Regions from separate parts of the Homo sapiens genome. Here regions 1, 2, 3 and 4 are each linked to region 5. Evidence: promoter capture Hi-C in 16 types of primary human blood cells and fetal thymus (Javierre and others, 2016). All regions are on one chromosome and are shown on one strand. Each heading gives the region's core, a stretch centred on a gene start or on the middle of the fragment in contact. The rest is flanking DNA. Distances are from core to core; before and after follow the strand shown.

What was found. The method cuts DNA at HindIII sites, captures the fragments that hold promoters and counts their contacts. A CHiCAGO score of 5 or more calls a contact.
Region 1: a contact is called between a fragment that was not itself captured here and the fragment with the promoter of NDP in region 5, in 1 of 17 cell types (fetal thymus). The highest score is 5.3, in fetal thymus.
Region 2: a contact is called between a fragment that was not itself captured here and the fragment with the promoter of NDP in region 5, in 1 of 17 cell types (naive CD4 T cells). The highest score is 6.7, in naive CD4 T cells.
Region 3: a contact is called between a fragment that was not itself captured here and the fragment with the promoter of NDP in region 5, in 4 of 17 cell types (erythroblasts, naive CD8 T cells, total B cells and 1 more). The highest score is 6.7, in erythroblasts.
Region 4: a fragment that was not itself captured here is called in contact with the fragment with the promoter of NDP in region 5 in 1 of 17 cell types (total CD4 T cells); the score reaches 6.0 in total CD4 T cells.

What each region holds. Positions count from the first base shown.
Region 1 is chrX:45,182,670-45,185,369 of GRCh38, forward strand. The region is part of intron 2 of DIPK2B (divergent protein kinase domain 2B); the gene reads right to left. Among named protein-coding and RNA genes, the nearest start is that of DIPK2B, 17 kb to the right of the region's middle. The HindIII fragment of the contact is 256 bases long and covers 1,179-1,434 here.
Region 2 is chrX:45,076,882-45,079,581 of GRCh38, forward strand. KDM6A (lysine demethylase 6A) reads left to right here. Exons shown (of 30, transcript NM_001291415.2): 20 at 1,519-1,624; 21 at 2,265-2,470. Among named protein-coding and RNA genes, the nearest start is that of DIPK2B, 120 kb to the right of the region's middle. The HindIII fragment of the contact is 5,581 bases long and covers 1-2,700 here.
Region 3 is chrX:45,208,148-45,210,847 of GRCh38, forward strand. No RefSeq gene overlaps it. Among named protein-coding and RNA genes, the nearest start is that of DIPK2B, 8.6 kb to the left of the region's middle. The HindIII fragment of the contact is 3,604 bases long and covers 1-2,700 here.
Region 4 is chrX:45,059,836-45,062,535 of GRCh38, forward strand. KDM6A (lysine demethylase 6A) reads left to right here. Exons shown (of 30, transcript NM_001291415.2): 13 at 187-321; 14 at 774-929; 15 at 1,489-1,584. Among named protein-coding and RNA genes, the nearest start is that of DIPK2B, 140 kb to the right of the region's middle. The HindIII fragment of the contact is 2,123 bases long and covers 389-2,511 here.
Region 5 is chrX:43,972,002-43,974,701 of GRCh38, forward strand. NDP (norrin cystine knot growth factor NDP) reads right to left here and starts at 1,389. Exons shown (of 3, transcript NM_000266.4): 1 at 1,303-1,389. The HindIII fragment of the contact is 1,267 bases long and covers 1,087-2,353 here.

The sequences.
Region 1 (2,700 bases), core at 57-2,556, 1.2 Mb after region 5:
AGAGCGGTGTTGTTTCACACACTGCAGTGAAAAAGAACACCAACCACGGATTCACGCAACAACATGGATAAATAGCATGATGTGTTGTGTACATATTGTACGATTCCATTTAAATGAAGTTCAAAAACAGGTAAAACTAATCCATGGTGAGTTAAGTCAGAATAGCAGCTACCTTTGGGAAGGGTCAGGGTAACCAACTGTTCAGGTTGTCCTGCAGCTGAGAGGTTTCAGTGTGAAAGCTGGGAGAGTCCTAAGCAAACTGGGATGGTTGGTCACCCTAGAATGTGGTCTTTTTTGGGAAGGCACATGAAGGAGCCTTTTGAGGGGCCAGAAATGTTCAGTATCTTGATATGGATGGTGGCCACGAGTAAATACACGAGTGAAAATTTATCCAGCTATGCACTTAAGATATATGTGTTTATGTATGCAGTTTATACTTTAATTGAAAATCTTTAAAAATAGCTATATGTTACAAAGCACAGAGTATGAAGAAAGCAAAGACAATAGGGCCATTAGAATTTTGGTGGATAACAAAATGAAGGCCCGATTTTCATTTCTAATGTTTGCTTGTTTTCTCTTTCAGGTGTTGGGACTTTGATGGGAAAAAGGTGAAGCAAAATGTGGTAAACAGGAATGAAAAGCCAGAATGAATAAAGGAAGCCTTCATTGTTCTGAGTGAGTTCCCCAGCCTGAGAGATTCACAGAGACCTGGCAAATGATATTGCTGAACCATGGGCAGTGAATGCAGAGAACAGAAAAGGCATGAAAATCCATTTCTGATATTTAAAAAGAGCAAGAGGGTAGATTTCACAAATTAGTGATTAGTGGGCTGATCCTGGATCACAGGAAATATTCTAAAACAGGTTATTCATAGGATAATTTGTGAGCCTCCAGATGGGGAAATGATGATCTTAAGGAGTCACTGAGGATTCTTTTAATCAAATCATTCCAGACTAACAACTTTTTTTTCTTTGACCTGGTAGTTTGATTTTTAATCAGAGAAATTCAATAGACAGAATATATGAACTTTAGTGAAGCATTCAACAGTGATTCTCATGAGACCCCTATAAAACAAAAGGGGAAACAAGATTTGGGCTGCATAGAAAAATTAAGATGATTAGTAATTGGTTAACTGAGTTTACCTAACAACTAACGGATTAACCCCTATAGAGAAAGAAAGCTTTTTATTTGGCCCTGTTCTGGTTAACATTTTTATAGAGGACTAAGACATAGATAAAAATTGTGTTCATCAAAACTGAGAATAATATGTACTTGGGGTGATACGGGGTATGATAAGTATCAGAAACAAGTTGACAGGCTAGAATAATGGATTTAATATAAGAAGATCATATATAACAGGATAAACAAAAGGTTCTGTCCTTGTGAACTAAAATCTAGCTACAGAAGGGGTTTCAGTTGACATAACATTTAAGAAGCTTCAATATGAGAGGAATGCCGAGATGAAAAAGAGAACTGGGGATGTTTACAATGGGGAAGCCAGGATTTAGGAGCTGCGTGTATGGGAGGGCATATGTCATGTATAATCTGTATGATTCCAGGGCGTAGAAATACTTTACATAAGTGAGAGCTACAAGAAGACAGATTTGGGATGAACTTTCCAAGTATCTGTTCTGTCCAAAGAAGGCATAAGCTGAAGGTAGTGAGTTTCCTGTCACTGTATGATACGGTAGATGACCCTTTGCCTTACAGAAAGGATGCAAATATGTTAGAGTTCAAATTGCTGAGCTTTCAAATTTATTTCAACCCCAAGAATCTATGACATATGTGTAATTCAGTAAGTAGAAATAGATTTTGATCTTTAACAAATTGATATATTGCTCTGTGGTTTGCTCTCATATATAAACCAGGAATAAATATATTTATTCCCTGCTTAACCCACACAAAAGGTTTATAAATTATGCCTTCCACAGACCTCTTGATAATCCTAAGAGAGAAGCGCTAACACAATTGTAAAAATTATTACTGCCATAAGTGGCCTTGAGTTAGGAACAAATTAATATGCGTTTTTAATATCTTTTTGTATTATTTCTCCACATTAATGACCGAACTTGTGTCAACAGCAGCCTAACAGAACCCTGGATTGATTTTCAATTTTCCTCTGAGCAGTGATTTGGCAAAGGCTAAATCATAGTTTGGGGAAATATAGAGTTTTCATCATTGTTATTATCCTGATATTATTACAATTTCAATTATTTGCTCTGTGGCTCAAAAGATAATGTTTTTACATTTCTGCTTTGGTATTTTTTTTTCCTATTATAGTTAATGTCTGATGTGATTCTCTTTTGATTAGATAAAATGATCTTTAATATTTCTACTTTAAAAAATGTATTGAGGGGTTTTGTGGCTTAATACACAGAACACAATCACGGTAGCACAATCAATTGATATAGTGGTTAAGTTCTGCTTATTAGGCCACAAATATTGTGTTAGAACACAATCACTATATTAACTGATGTCTTCCAAGTGACTTTCTTTATAGATAAATACTATATATTATATAGTTTAACCTTTGATTCCTTCATAGCATGTGGACATGCATAGAGGGACAGCCAATCCAGAGGCCTCTGGGCCAAGTCACACTTAACGGCAAAAGCATTTTTTTCTGAGTACATCAGGATAGAGGTAATGAGATATCAAAGGAAGAATTGTATAGAACAAAGGATGCCTTGATTTTTTAAA
Region 2 (2,700 bases), core at 1-2,500, 1.1 Mb after region 5:
CATAAAATCTTTAAATTTACATGGATGCCCTTTAGGAAACATTACAATTATTGGCAGCAGATTAAATAGTTTGGGGGCGGGGGGGAAGATATATTCAAGAAGATTTTGTAATAGCATTTTTAAAGGACCTTCTCAGCTATTAACTGTGATGATATTAGAATCATGAGAAACATTTTTTATTGCCCTAATTTTGAGCAGCGTTAGGAAAAAGCTACCTAAAAGTGTAACTTTTTTTAGTAAACTGGGTTTTAAATCCACATTCTACTTAGTTATGTGGACCTTAACATTCATTCTGTTTTATACATCTACCCCCCCAAAAAAGATACTACCTTCAAAATAAGTGTTTGAGAACATAAGTGTGATAGTAGATATATGTGACTAAAAAAACTTAATAGGTTATTTAAAACATTTAAAACTAGATACTAGTTTTACTTTATAGAAATATAGGAATCTGATATAGGAAGTCATTAGCAGTTCAATCAAAACAATTCCTATTTCTGTTTCTTCCAAATAGATCTTCCTATCCTATTTCCTTTCATTTTCCTGCTTCTATCCCAAATTAAAATTTTGTAAGTATAAAGTTAGGGTAGTATATGTATAATGATCTTGCATCTATAAAATGGTACTAGAGTTTGTTTTATAGATTTAACCCCCTTGCCCTCTAGAGGCCAAATATTATCATATTAATTCTTCCTCCAACCAGTTGTTGTTTATCCCTTACTATGTAAGGGAAGCACTGGGATAGACATGTAAAAAAACTTGTAAAGTGAGCTCTGAGGAGAAAAAAAAATGCAAAATTAAGTTTTTATCTTTTATGGGTCCTCTTCAGTCTGCTTTCTTTGATAATATTTGTTTAGGCATAATTTTTTTTCTTTTCCTCTCTTATATTGTGATTTTTTAAAAACACATAGCATAAAATTTACCATCTTACCCATTTCTGAGTGTGCAGTTCAGTACTGTTAAGCATATTCACATTGGTGTCCAACCAATCTCCAGAACTTTCTCATCTTGACAAACTGAAACTACACACTGAACAACTACCCATTTCTCCCTCCTGCCAGCCCCTGGCAACTACCATTCTACTTTCTGTTTCTATAAATTTGACTATTCTAGATACCTCATGTAAGTGGAACCATACAATATTTGTCTTTTTGTGACTGGCTTATTTCACTTAACATAATGTCCTCAAGATTCATCCATGTTGCAGCATGTGTCAAGATTGTCTTTTCATTTTAAGACTGAATAATATTTAAAACACTTTGATTTTGAAGTTTAATTTCAGTTTCATTTCTCCTACATATTTTTGTCATGATAAAATGGAAAGGAGAAATGTATGTGGTTACTATCTGATTAAAACTAGAATCAAAAGTCACAGTGATAAGATACTGTCAAATAGAAATATCACCCCATAAAATGCGTTATTTAAATTGTGAAAAATAATGAATATTAATTTGGAGCATAATATTTAAATAAAAGCTCTGTTTTCCTGAGATCTAACCACATATTTTAATTTTACAGTTGGAAAATAAACGTGATGCTTTCTTTCCTCCATTACATCAATTTTGTACAAATCCGAACAACCCTGTTACAGTAATACGTGGCCTTGCTGGAGCTCTTAAGTTAGGTAAGCCTTAAATTAAAAAAGGAAAACGTTTGTCTCTTTGTTTTGCTATCTTTTAACTTTTCCAGCACTGGCAGATACTTTTCTTTTTTTTCTTTTTTCTTTTTTTTTCTTTTTTTGTATTTTAATTTTACTTTTTTTTAGTACTAAGAATGAGAGAGAGTGTGTGTATCACTTCTTTAATCCATGATGTGAATATATTGTTGGTGATACTGGTTACTGACAATTTGGTGGAGGTTTTTAAATTTAGCTATTACTTTGGTCCGTTTACATAATTGTGATTTAGGTTAATAGAAAAAATTTGATTATAAAATGTAGGTGAAATTTGATGCTACTAATAAATACTATAGCCCCATAAGTATTTCCTGGCATCTGCAGAAATTAAATAAATAAGTGAAATTTCAGTCCTTTCACACTTAATTCTTTCTCGGATGGGATGACATAGCAGTTAGATTCAGGGCTTCAGCGTATGGTTCTGCAAACTTGGCACATAGCTCAGGTTGTGCAGAGGCCCTAGTTTTTTATGGGAACTGGATACAGTGCCGTAAAATGCTTTACCTTCTTCCTTTAAAAAAAAAAAGCACTTAAAATATTATCCCAAATATAATTTTCATTTTTTAACTACATTTATGTATTCATGAAGACCTGGGACTTTTCTCTACTAAAACTTTGGTGGAAGCTAACAATGAACATATGGTAGAAGTGAGGACACAGTTGTTGCAGCCAGCAGATGAAAACTGGGATCCCACTGGAACAAAGAAAATCTGGCATTGTGAAAGTAATAGATCTCATACTACAATTGCTAAATATGCACAGTACCAGGCCTCCTCATTCCAGGAATCATTGAGAGTAAGTATTTGTATCCTAAAGATTATTTTAGGATTTTAAAGATGATTTTACTTTGGAGTTTTGAAAGGACACATTACTTTTATATGCATCTCATCATTTTATGTTACATAAAATACTTTGTAAGTGTTCTCCAGTTGTCTCGTATGTATATATGTATGTATGTATGTATGTATGTATGTATGTATGTATGTACGTACGTATGTGTATTTTGAGACGGAGTCTCCATCTGT
Region 3 (2,700 bases), core at 149-2,648, 1.2 Mb after region 5:
ATAAATGTTCCCTCCCCCAAGGACACAGATTCTCTCTCCACATGATGTGGCTGCTGCCATGGGGATAGGGGTGGTGGTGTAAGCCATTCAAGGCTGATTTTCCTACCCCCTTCAGTGCCTCTTTCAGCAATGTGAAGTTAAAACCAGGTACTTTGAAAAGAAATGTTCAAGAATGTTATCTTGAATTTCTTTGAGTTTCCTCAACACAGCTATTTTGAATTCTTTGTCTAAAAGGTCACATATCTCTGTCTCTGCCAAATTGGCCCCTGGCACCTAATTTAGTTCACTTGATGAAGTAATGTTTTCCTGAATGGTACTGGTGCTTATAGATGTTCTTTGGCATCTGGGAATTGAAGAGTTAGGTATTTATTGTAGTCTTCACAGTCTGGGCTTATTTTTACCTGAAGTTCTTGGGAAGGTTTTCCAGGTTTTTGAAGGGACTTGGGTGTTGTGATCTAAGTTTTTGGTCACTGCAGCCATATCTGCATTAGGGGGCACCCCAAGCCCAGTAATGCTGTAGTTCTTGTGGACTCATAGAGTTACTGCCTTGGTGGTCTTGGATAAGATCTGGATGAATTCTCTAGATTACCAGAGACTCTTGTCCTTTTTCCTTACTTTCTCCCAAACAGAGTTTCTCTCTCTGTGCTGAGCTGCCTGGAGCTGAGGGATGTGTAACACAAGCACTCCTGTGACTATACCACTGGGACTGTGCCGGGTCAGACCTGAAGCCAGCTCAGCACTGGGTCTTGCCCAAGGCCCGCTATAACCACTACCTGGTTACCATCTATATTTGCTCAAGGTCCTAGGTCTCTACAATCAGCAGTTTGTGAAGCCATTCAGTCTTGTGTCCTTTCCTTCATGGTGGCAAGTTTCCCAGGGCCCTAGGAAGATCTAGAGATGCTGGAGTCAGAGTCAGAAACCTTAAAAATCTACCTGGTGCTCTACTATACTGCAGCTAAACTGGCACCAAAAACCACAAGATGAAGTCCTTCCTACTCTTTCTTCCCCTTTCCTAAGGTAGAGGAGTCTATCCCTATGTCCACCACTATCACAGGCCCACAGAAAGTACTGCCAGGGTACCACTGATATTCAGTTAAGGCCAAGGGCTCTTCAATCAGCTTGTGCTGAATGCTGCCTGGCCTGGGACTCACTCTTCAGGGCAGTGGGCTTCTCTCTTGTCCAGGGTCAGTCCAGACATACCATCTAAGAGCCAAGACCTGGATTAGTGACCCTAAAAAGCCTGCTTGGTGCTCTACTTCTCTGTGGCTGAGCTGGTTCCTAAGATGCAAGACAAAGTCTCCTTACTCTTCTCTCCACTTCTCTCAAATAGAAGGAGTTTTGCCCCTTAACCACCTCAGATGAGAATGTGCTAAGTCTCACCTGAAGCCAGCACGTCTGAGTCTCACCCAAGGGCCACGGCGTATACTACCTGGTTACCACTACTACCACTACCACTCGGTTATTCCGAACCCAAGGGCTCTTTAGTCATATGGTGATGAATCTTGCCTGGACTGGGTTCTTCCTTTCAAGGCAGTGGGTTCCTTTCTGGCCCAGGGTGTGTACAGAAATATCTGGGAGCTAGGGTCTGGAATGAATCTCACAGCTCTGCTTGGTGCTCTATTCTACTGTGGCTGAGGTGGTATCCAAGTTGCAAAGCAAAGTCTCATTTACTCTTCCCTATTCTCTCCTCAAGTGGAAGGAAGGGGTCTCTTTTGGAACTACAAGCTGCACTGCCTTGAGGTGGAGGAGGGGTGACGAAAGCACTCCCTTAGCCACCTCAACCTGTGTCTCATCAGGTTGCATGCCCCCCACATTCACTGGCTTCGAGCCCAGCACAGCACTAGGATTCGCCTAGGAGTCGCAGTTCTTGTGGCCTAGATAGCATTTCAGGTTTATTTAGGATCCCATAGCACTTTAGCCCACGGTGGTGAGGCTTGCCAAAATTCATATTTTGAGCACTAGGATGGGTGGTTCCCCTCTGCATAGAGCTGATCTAAATGTTTCCTCTGTGGGCATTGGCTGAGTTCTGCCTGATGTTGGCAGGACTGAGTTCCAATGCAAAGTCCCACAGTCACTGATTTTCCCTCCCCTAAGCACACAGATTCTCTCTCCACATCATGTGGCTGCTGCCATGGGGATGGGGATGGTGGTGTCAGCAATTCAAGACGGGTTTTCCTACCCCCTTCAGTGCCTCTTTCAGCAATATGAAGTTAAAACCAAGTACTTTGATCATACACCTGATTTTTTGCTCTTATGAAGGTACTTTTTTGTGTACATAGTTGTCAGATTTGGTGTTACTGTGGGGAGGATGATTGATGGAGGCTTCTATTTGGCCACCTTGCTCCACCTCCTCCTTATCACTTGTTCTTAACAATTATGCTTGAATTGGTCATGAAAAATTTCATGAGACATTAAACAAAGCTAGCCACTGAAGGACTTCAAGGAAGGCCACCGCGAAATATGCCACTTTGGTATATAATCACTTCAGGCTGAAGGTACTTAAAAAATAGCAAATGCAGGGAGAGCTTTTCTCTGGATTCCCCTTATCTGCCTAAATAGAGATCCAACACCCAGAGAAGATCAACTCCTATCAAAGGAGAGAAAACTAGAAGTTGACACTATATCCAGACAAACTATCACAAACTGTCATCTATTCCTCTTGGGGCCTATTTATCTTTCCCTCAAATCATTTAATCTCCC
Region 4 (2,700 bases), core at 200-2,699, 1.1 Mb after region 5:
TGTTTTGATTCTCACAAAGGTTTATATTCCGGTTACCCTGTTTATACTTAGTGTCTTCTAAAGCCCCAAATTTAGAATCTATTTTCTTTTAAAAACAATTAGCTATAGCATTTAGGAAGATTTAGTGGACTTGCTCTTACTCAAGTAGGCTTGTGTTAAATTTGCTTTTTACATAATTTTTCCTAGGCTCAGTTGTGTAACCTTCCACAAGGTAGTCTACAGAATAAAACTAAATTACTTCCTAGTATTGAGGAGGCGTGGAGCCTACCAATTCCCGCAGAGCTTACCTCCAGGCAGGGTGCCATGAACACAGCACAGCAGGTGAGAAGTTGGGTTATGTTCTGCAGGTGCCCAGCTTTAAGGGTTCTTTTCAATTCTCTAGTGGTCAAGCTTAATTTACTAAGCACAGGAGGCTTTTAGTAATGAAAAGCCTTTTGATTTAATTGCAAAGGGAATCTAGATCAAAATAAAATTCCCTCTAATATGGGAAGAGATTTTGGGGTACCAACTTAGAACCTTTGTGCATTTTCATGATTTTGAAGGAGATTTCTTAAAATAATGCTACAGTGGTTTGTTTAATTTTTAAGGCAAGTTTTTCAAAGGAAGGTACACATTATTCCATTGATGAATCATTTAATTTTGATTTTCAATCATTGCAATCAGCGATGTCCACATAGCTTTGAAAAGTATGCAGCTTGTAAAGTTTTATAATTTGAAGGAATGAATTAAGAATATATAGAACCCTATTTTTGTCTTCCTTCTGTGATTCTTAGGCATGTAAACCTCATCATCCAAATACTGAACCTGTATTAGGCCTCAGTCAAACACCAATTTCACAGCAATCCTTGCCACTACACATGATTCCTTCTAGCCAAGTAGATGACCTGTCCAGTCCTGCCAAGAGGAAAAGAACATCTAGTCCAACAAAGGTATATGTTTTAGAGAAATAGAAAATCCCAGTCAAAAAAGAAGTTTCAGCTGCCCTGAAATTGTGCAGTTTGAACATTTCCTGTCCTTTATTTTAAATTTGTGGACATCAAAGAGTGAAAGGTTTGAGTTTTTCCATCCCAAACCCTTAGTATCATATTAAATATAGAAAGTAGGGATAAATTTGCATTCATCAAATCATTTTATTCATCTCCCTGCCGTTAAGATCCCAGCACACTTTTCATCATCACTTTTTACTGACATTGAAATAAATTTAATGTTGGATCTAGTGGACAGTGTGGTGTTTAGGCTAGCCGTTTGGGCCATAGTTTGAGGGTGGGCCTTTTTGGGTGGCTTATTAAATAGTCAGTAATTTTTAAATGTATGATTTCTAAGTTTAATATGCATGTAAAATTATTTTTTAAAGAATTTAATGTTATAACATCTTTTTAACATGTAAATATTCCAATTCATAGTCATTTGGCCTCCTCTAACCATTATTATTAACTGTGGATTTAACCAAATATTCTTTAATTTTTTTTTTAAATCGATTTTCCTCAGAATACTTCTGACAATTGGAGTGGTGGACATGCTGTGTCACATCCTCCAGTACAGCAACAAGCTCATTCATGGTGTTTGACACCACAGAAATTACAGGTATGTAAGATGTTTTTGACAAATTGTTTATTAAAAAGGAGTAGAGGTAGCAAACAAGTATTAATTTTTTTTTTTTTTTTTTTTTTTTTTGAGATAGAGTCTTGCTCTGTCACCCAGGCTGGAGTATAGTGGCACGCTCTTGGCTCACTGCAACCTCCGCGTCCTGTGTTAAAGTTATTCTTGTGCCTCAGCCTCCAGAGTAGCTGGGATTACAGGCACGCACCATCACACCCCGCTAATTTTTATATTTTTGGTAGAGACTGGGTTTCGCCATGTTGGCCAGACTGGTCTTGCACTCCTGACCTCAAGTGATCCACCTACCTCAGCCTCCCAAAGTGCTGAGATTACAGGTGTGAGCCACTGCACCCAGCCCTAAGTATTAATTCTTATAAGTTAAATGGCAGTACATTCAATTAAAATGCACAAAAGTAAAATGAGCCTGCATTTACCAGAATAATGAAGAGCATTCATTCTTGTTTTTAATTTCTTTTTTTTTTTTTAAACAGGACATGGTTTACACTACATAAAGTATAAATATAGGGTATATAGGGTAAAGTTTTCTTCTAACTCTGGCCCCTACCCACTCAAAATGTGGCTGGTATTACTAATTTCCTATCTATCATTCCAGAGGTATGTTATGTATGTACAAGCAAATATACATCCCCCCCTTTCTCACATGTATTATTATTTTTCTTCTTTTTTACACAAATGATAGGATTCTTATTTGCTGTTAACAACATATTTTACAGACTTCTGCATGTCAATATGTGAAGAGCTTCCTTGTTCTTTTATGGTTACATCATATTTCTTTATATAGATGTAACACCTTTATTTAAGCAGATCAGTAATTTTGGACATTCAGGTTGTCTTCAGACTTTGCTTATTCCAGACAGTGCTGCTTTTAGCATACTTGTCAATATATTTTTAAGCTTCAAGAGTTTTCTCTGTGAATACCTAAGAATACTGTATGGATGAGTAAAATTTCATGCCCATCTATTACAAAGAACTCATAGTAAATCTTGTTCAGATGAATGCTTAGTTCATTCTTATATTTCTCAAGCTTATTAAAGGACTTCATCTTGGAGTGTGTGACTGTTGGTCAGAAGACAGTGTGTT
Region 5 (2,700 bases), core at 139-2,638:
CTGTATTTGGTTGACACCCACAGCAACTCCCCATTTCAGTCATCTCTCTGTTTTCAAATGCACCTGGTATTTAATCTTATGTGTTGGGGTAATTTGCCAATGCCAGCTCCTTGTAATTAAAATACACTAATATTAGAAATGAAAAGAGACATGTTTCACAGCAGCCATATCTGTTATTAATGAGTTACAAAGAACTGTACAAGGGACTCCCATCTTGCCAAATAGCTTCCTTTCCCGCACCTGAATCTCAGTAAAGATGGGAGTCTGCCTCTCATGGAGGCTTATCTGGGTTTGTCTATTACAATGAGCCTCAGTTACTGGGCGTTCTGAGTCATTAACATTCTGTACACAATCAAACTTCCCGTCCCCCAAGAAAGAGTTATGCCCAGGCCTCCTACAGCTCAATTGTTCATTTAAAGAGAGAACTTGTATTCCAAAGTTTGAAAGAAACCTCGGAATATCCCGCAGGTAGGAGTCATTCCTACAGGTCCTGGTCTCTGTGCTGGTGGGAGCATCCTTTCCCGGTCACTCCTTGAACATCATGCTGCAGGGACGAGCTGATGACTAAAAATAACCCCCTGCAATAAGTCCAAGGCAAACAGCATGCATTTCCTCGGACTTTTTGCCCAATCAAAATCATACAGTAAATCCATCCTCATCTCCTCCCGGTGCTCCCCAATGCATCTATGGAAGCGAAGACCTGCACGCTGAAAGAAGAGTGCAAGGGAGCAGGATTCCTGCAAAGCGTGACACAGAAAGCTAGAAATAAATGTTGCCTATTGTTTGAAGTCATTCTGAGCACTCCGGCAGAGCCCTGGCAGGAGATCAGCAGCATACATAAGTAGTAATAAAAGTAAACAGTGCGCTTTTAAACTCGCAGTCTTGCCTGCGTTAATAGTGCCCCCATTGTAAGTGGGATGAGGGTGCTGGGGAAGATACTGGGCTCCATGAATCCATGTTGGCAAGTTGCTGCTTCGCAGCCCCCTTTCACGGGGTCAACTATAAGAACCATCACAAAGTTACATCTAACTACGCAGAGAGTTTGAAAAGAAAAATCTCTTTAAGTCAAACCAAAAGATATTTTCAAGCTTTTCTAGGAGGCTCCCTGCTCTGTCACAGACTTCAAAGACCCGTTCATTTAAGAAACACAATGCTAGCATGCTACAGATTAATGCAAATTAAAGTAATGCAAATTTAAGTGGTATTTAAAGGTTGTCTCTTTGTCTGAGAGGAGGATGAAATGCTCGGTTTGGAAAGAAGCGATTTCCTAGGCAAGCCGGCAGCGCTTGTTTTCCTGCTTACCTTAGGGGAACGCAGGGCTCCTTTCTTCTCAGACTTTTCTGAGAGCTAGAAAGAGGTCCTGTTACTTCCAAATGCTTTTGTTCTTCTGTCCCTCTGTCACATGGCTTGCCTTTTATATTTGCAACACACAAAAGTTAGGACTGTTGTTTAAGCGACACAGGGAGAGAGAGAGAGGGAGAGAGAGAGGGAGAGAGAGAGAGGGAGAGAGAGAGAGAGAATGTCAAATGGAAAAGTGCCATTGCAGTCATATATCAATCAGGCGTGCGGCCGCAGCAGCGCACTAGCAAATGGGAATGCCACGGAAATGTGAGGCGCTCGTTATCGGGGACTCAGCCTCTGCCCACCGCTCGGCTCCCTTCCACGGAGCATCTTACGATGGGAACAGCGTAGCAGAACAAGGGCGAGGAAGTTTCTTTCTTTCTTTCTTTTTTAATGGTATTATGGAACTAATAAGAGGCCAAATGAATATTCTGAATTTAATTCTTTTTCAAGCATGTGGCTGCCATAAAGATGTGCCGTCCGCAATAGAGACGTATAGTTTTGGAAATACAAAGGCAGTGTGGCATTCTGTTGAACGATTCGGCAGCTGACTGTGATGAAGTTGAAATTTTAAGTAAGAGAGGGGAAAGATGGGAACCAGAAATTTTTTTCTCAGGCGATGCTGTTAAAGCAAGTGCAAAACGCTGCCCTATTTTATCACGATGTGTGTGGGTGGTGAGAGTTCTTTTTTTCCGGGTTGTTCATCCATTAAATGATTTTTAGCAGCATATACATGATTAAATTCACAATGGCACTTTAATAAGCCCCTTCATCTGCATCATTTAGAATAAAACTTTAGGTCTGATTTAGAAACAATGAGAACGTGTATTCCTTGACTCCTTGAGCTATATGAAGGAGAAACTAATAGATAAAGCTAACCCATTACACAACAACTAGTAGAAAAGTGACAAAGGTAACTATGTGTGTGGGTTAAATACCTGCAGCTGAATCATGCTGTGTTATGAGCTGTGGGACTACAAAGGCAAATATTTCATAATTCTTGCCCTTTGAAAGCTTAAAATTAACACAGAAAACCGTCAGGGATTTTGGAGGAAAATACAAAGAACATTTAATAATTATTTTATGTCAGGTAAATCAGACCCAGAATAATTTGTTTTATTAATACTACTGATGAAGAATTAAACTGAGAATTTAAAATATATATATTTCGTGGAAAAAATAATACATTATAAAACTCAAAAAGAAATTTTTCTTGGGAGCTTCATGTAATTGTTGATGCTGAAACTGTCTTGTTCAACTCTGTATCAAACTATTTGTTATTCATTAATAAATTTACATTCACCTTATTACTTTTCCATGGGACCTTTACTCCAGTCACTGATATTTGCAAGAGGTGTC